Linked DNA regions of Homo sapiens: region 1 is linked to region 2. The links are contacts of gene promoters, found by promoter capture Hi-C in human tissues and cell types (Jung and others, 2019). All regions are on one chromosome and are shown on one strand. The core of a region is centred on a gene start or on the middle of the fragment in contact, and the rest is flanking DNA. Distances in the headings are between cores, read along the strand shown.

Region 1 (2,721 bases), core at 85-2,584, 1.9 Mb after region 2:
GCTATTTGGAAGGCTGAGTCAGGAGAATCGCTTGAACCCAGGAGGTAGAGGTTACAGTGAGCCGAGATCATGCCACTGCACTCCAGCCTGAACGACAGAGTGAGACTCTGTCTCAAAAAAGGAAAAAAAAAAAGAATTGCAGGGAAAAGTTGTTACCATACCACCTTTCTGCTCATGAGCTGGAGAATTTGTAGTTTGTCATACACACATACAGAATGAAGAAAATTACCTCATCATGTACAAACAAAACATTTTAGATGGGGTAAAGAGCCAAATATAAAAAGAAACCTATAAAGGTATTTTCTAACACAGAGAAAAGCATGATTATTAACCTTAGGCTAGGGAAGCCCATCTTAAGCAACACAAAGTATAAAACCTATAGGGAAAAAAAGAGTGATTTTTTTTTTTTTTTGAGATGGAGTCTCACTCTGTTGCCCAGGCTGGATGCAGTGGCGCCATCTTGGCTCACTGCAAGCTCCACCTCCCGGGTTCAAGTAATTCTCCCGCCTCAGCCTCCACAGTAGCTGGGATTACAGGTGCAGGCCACCATGCCCAGCTAATTTTTCTATTTTTAGTAGAGACAGGGTTTCACCATGTTGGTCAGGCTGGTCTTGAACTCCTGACCTCATGATCCGCCTGCCTCGGCCTCCGCAAGTGCTGGGATTACAGGCGTGAGCCACTGTGCCTGGCCTAAAAGAGTGATTTTTTCACTATATGAATATTAAAGCTTCTCTTTGACAGAAGACACCACGAAGTTGAAAGACAATTGATATACTGGGAGAATATATTTACAACTTGTTCAACACAAAAAAGAATTAATGTTCACAATACATAAGGAACCCTAAACATTAAAAAAGACCAAAAAAGGCAGGGCATGGTGGCTCACGCCTGTAATCCCAACATTTTGGGAGGTTGAGGCGGGCGGATCACTTGAGGTTGTGAGTTTGAGACCAGCCTGGCCAACATGGTGAAACCCCATCTCTACTAGAAATGCAAAAATTAGCCGGGCGTAGTTGTGGGTGCCTGTAATCCCAGCTATTTGGGAGGCTGAGGCAGGAGAATCGCTTGAATCCAGGAGGCAGAGGTTTCAGTGAGCCAAGATCGCGCCATTGCACTCCAGCCTGGGCGACAGTGCGAGACTCCATCTCAAAAAAAAAAAAAAAAAGAAAAGAAAAGAACAACAACAACAAAAAAACCCCAAAAATCAATGCTCTGCAGAGGAAATACCAAAGGCCAATTAGCTTACAAAGAGATTTTTTACCTCAGTAATAAGAAAAAAAAATTAAAACAGCGATGAGATAGATGGCAAAAATCAAAATGATTAATAGGAGTCTAAGAAACACTATACAGAATTATACCAGGCCCGGCATGGTGGCTCACACCTGTAATCCCAGCACTTTGGGAGGCCGAGGCAGGTGGATCACGAGGTCAGAAGTACGAGACCAGCCTGGCCAACATAGTGAAACCCAGTCTCTACTAAAAATACAAAAATTAGCCAGAGTGGTGGCGCACACCTATAGTCCCAGCTACTCGGGAGGCTGAGGCAGGGAGAATCGCTTGAACCCAGGAGGCGGAGGTTGCAGTGAGCCGAGATCGCGCCACTGTACTCCAGCCTGGGTGACAGAGCGGGACTCTTGTCTCAAAGAAAAAAAAAAAAATAGACCTTCCCTTACAGTGATGGTGAGAATATAGATGGCAGTGCCTCTTTCTGAGGGCTATTTGTCAGTGGTTCTTAAAATGCATATTCTCTTCAACCCAGCTCTAGCTTTTTATCTTACAGAAATTTGTATGTACACAAAAATGTACGGGCAGGATATTCATTGAAGCATCATTCATAGTAGGAAAAAATGAAAAACCAGCCTAAATGCTCAACAATAGTGGAGTGTGAACTAAATTATAGAGCATCTATGCCATAGACTCTTACACAAAGCAGTAAAAAAGAATGAGAGGAATGTAATTAAAATTTCAGGAAAAACAAAAACAAAACTCCGTGAGAAAAGGTGCGATGCTAATATTTTTAAATGTGCCATGATTTTGAGCATTTGGTAGATTGGAACAGGGAGAATTCATTGTATTCATTCTTTGACTATTACCAGTGTTGTCATATTGGAACAATAGAGCAGGAAATACATCACATTGTTTATCTCTGCAGTGAATAATATTTACATAGTCATGATAACTTAAGTGCTGTTTATTACTTTTCATCTTTTAGAATCAACCTATAGTCCAAACACAGTGGCTCATGCCTGTAATCTCAATACTTTGGGAGGCTGAGGCAGGCAGACCACTTGAGCTCAGGAGTTTGAGACCAGCCTGGGCAACACAGTGAGACCTCATCTCTACCAAAAATTTAAAAATAAAAATTAGTCTGGCATGATAGTGTGCGCCTGTAGTCCCAGCTACTCAGGAGGCCAAGGTGGAAGGATCGCTTGAGCCCAGGAGATTGAGGCTGCAGTGAGCCATGATTGCACCACTTCACTTTAGCCTGGGTGACAGAATGAGATCCTGTCTCAAAAAAAAAAAAAAAAAAAAGAAAAGAAAAAAAGACAAGAATCGACCTATAAAACATTAAATACTTAAGGTTTAAAAGATCCAAAATGTTGGCCGGGCACGGTGGCGGGCGCCTGTGATGCCAGCTACTCGGGAGGCTGAGGCAGGAGAATGGCGTGAACCCGGGAGGCGGAGCTTGCAGTGAGCCGAGATCACGCCACTGCACTGCAG
Region 2 (2,727 bases), core at 228-2,727:
AGCAAATACTCAGAAAAATTCAATTTCTAAGCAGGATAACATATGACCAATATTGCCCTCAGTGGTTCAAAAGTCGCAGTAGAAATAATCCCCTGAGATAACCTGGAATTTACCTACCCAAGTATTCTAAGGGGTTCTCCCCGGCCACACAAACTATGATTCAAAACATCGTTCCGAAAACCCAGGTCCTGCATGTGCACAAAGGCGCAGTGCTGGAATGAGGAAGCTTCACCAAGATGAAATCACAACTCTAATTCATTAAAGAATATGCAGACTGTTTTCTAGAAAGACCCTCTTGTTGCGCTCCCTTTACCCTACCCTTTATTTAACCATGTAAACAGTCTCAATTATTGACATAAAAAAATAGCTTTCGATTCCCAAGTCTGGTAACACGGTTGGCCACCATCACTATTCCTTTAGCATCCTAAAATAAACCCCTCGAGCCGAGGTCAAAAACACGCCGGCTGAACGTCTGGTGTTTACATAGCCCAATCCCGGGCCCTACCCTACCTTTCCGAGCCACTTAAGAGCCATGGAACAGGCATCACATAATACACTTAGTAAAGAGACAAGTCACATGAGTCAGTGTCTCAGGTCTATGAATGAAAGATCTAAGCGTTTGTCTCAGCTAAAAGGAAAAAACAACCTCGAAAGGAAGGGTGGGAGGGGAGCTGGCGGGGGTGAGGGGAGCGGTGTTCCTTCCATACCCCTGCCGGGCGATTTAAACCCAGTAAGAGGCAAACGCAGGGCCGCCAGGCTGGCGGGGCCGGAGTCCTCGGGCGTGACAGCCCCTCAAGAAAAGCTCGCGGTTTCGCGCCCGCGTCCCTTGAGCCGCAGTCCTCGCGGCAGCCCCTCCACCCGCGGGCTGGGTGGGCGTGCAGGGCGCGGGAGACAGAGCCACCGCGGCCGGGGCGGCGGCCCTGGGCGCACTTCCTCAACCTCCAGCCGCCCCGTCCCCAAAACTGGGAGTAGAAGCAAAGGAAGAGCGAGGCGGCAGCCAGAGAGAAAGGAGAGGGAGCGGCGAGCCCTCGCCTCTGCAGCTAGGAGAGGCCAGAGGCAGGCGAGGGAGAGGGTGCGGCGATCGCAGGCGAACTCCGCCGCGGGCCGACGCTGGGAGACGACCAGCCCGTAGCCTCCGCCCAACACGGCGGGCGCGCCCGGGAGTCTCCGGCACCCACCCGGTCCCCATTCCCACCGCACCCGCTACCGGCCAGTCCGCGCTCTACTCACGCTCGGGGCTCTTCCAGGCTCCGCGGCTCTAACCGCATCGGGTCCCAGCCCCGCGGGCGGCGGCGGCGGCGCCGAGGGAGAGGAGAGCGGGCGGCACGGCCCCCGCCTCCCGGCCCCTCTCCCCCGCCGCTCCGGAGCTGCCCGGCCGGGCCCGAGCCCTGCCTCGCCGGCGGCCCCAGCCCCAGTCCCAGCGGCCGCGGCAGCAGCAGCCCGACACCTCAGCGGCCGCAGCGGCGGCACCGGAACTGCCGCTTTCTACTTCTCGCTCCCTCTCCTCGCTAGCCCCCGCCACACGCCCCCGCCCCCGACTCCTTTCTCCGTCGCCCCTGTTTTTTTTTCCTTTTGTTTCCAGAATAAACTTTATTGGTCTCTTTTTCCGCTCACATCGTGTAAACAAACAACGAACTCTTCCCCACCCCCTCGGCCCCCCCCCTCCTCCGGCAGAAGAGGGTAAGAGCTGAGGAGGGGCAGAGCCTACAATCCCCCGGAAGCAGATGCGCAAAGAAGCGGAAGCGAAATTGAGGCGAGGAGGAGCAGGGAGTGGGCAAATAGGGTAACAATATGTGCTACTGCGCCTGCGTCTTGCTTTTCCGCCCGAAGTTTATGTACAGTTGGGGCTGCTCTTCTGACGTTTGTTTAATGATCCGTCTTCTGCAGTAGTGAGGGTGTTGTGTCATCCTAGGACAGCGTACGTGTAGTATATTTGTTTCTACGAGCAGCAGGCGAGCTGGGGTAGAGATATAGAAAGGAATATTGGGAGCAAGTGGGTTATTTCACTTTTACACCCATAGAGGAAACGAGATTAGTTCGGGGGTGAGAGGAGGTGCGGTGGCTAACCGCCGCTGTCAGTGGCTAACCAGCGTGGTTATGGATTCTATAATAGAAAGAATGCTTTTTACAAAGCGTTGCTGTGCGTTCTTCTGCCGACATGGTTTAAGTTGTATACCATCCCGAAGGCGGAATGCACTGTCACAGCCCTCTGCAGTCCTTTGACTCACTTCGTGGAGACCTTTTGCTATGCCCTCATTTTTTTTTTTAAATCGAATTCTGATTCGAAGCAGCTTGTAGGATTCAATTCTAACTATTCAGAAGACGTGGGGGATTTTTCGCGTAATGCCAACAGAGACTTCAGAAATGTCATATAGGCTATAGATTTGATTCAAGGTAGTGTCTTGGTGCTGCGTACCTTAGAAGTCTGTTTGCTTGAGAGTAAATCAATCTGTTGACTTTTGAGATTACTACTGATAAGGGTTCGGTACTGTGCGTTTTTCTCCCCCTACTGGTCTTTTGTTGTAATATTGGAAAAGCGTAGGAGCAGTGATTAGAAGTCTGAGATACAAGTACTCCAGCATCGGTTCCTCCTTGAATTTTTAAGTAATAGAGGGCTTGGGAAGTGACCCATCCTAGAGATGTTACAGTCCTACTTGTCCTCTAGAGCAAAACTCTGACCAATAACAGTCTTCTCGAACACCGCACGTCCGTCCATACCCCAATGGT

Evidence for each region. The method cuts DNA at HindIII sites, captures the fragments that hold promoters and counts their contacts. A contact is called where the count stands out against the background at its distance.
Region 1: a contact is called between a fragment that was not itself captured here and the fragment with the promoter of PIK3CA in region 2, in 1 of the 25 tissues and cell types used here (lymphoblastoid cells).

Annotation. Positions count from the first base shown.
Region 1 is chr3:177,233,728-177,236,448 of GRCh38, reverse strand. All of the region lies in intron 2 of LOC107986053 (a long non-coding RNA gene), which reads right to left. Among named protein-coding and RNA genes, the nearest start is that of TBL1XR1, 38 kb to the right of the region's middle. The HindIII fragment of the contact is 8,518 bases long and covers 1-2,721 here.
Region 2 is chr3:179,147,107-179,149,833 of GRCh38, reverse strand. It overlaps PIK3CA (phosphatidylinositol-4,5-bisphosphate 3-kinase catalytic subunit alpha), which reads right to left and starts at 1,477. Exons shown (of 21, transcript NM_006218.4): 1 at 1,231-1,477. PIK3CA-DT (PIK3CA divergent transcript) reads left to right here and starts at 1,861. Exons shown (of 3, transcript NR_125401.1): 1 at 1,861-1,918. RefSeq lists enhancers at 3-52, 614-1,113, 1,923-2,042, 2,653-2,727 and silencers at 853-902, 963-1,432. The HindIII fragment of the contact is 8,069 bases long and covers 1-2,727 here.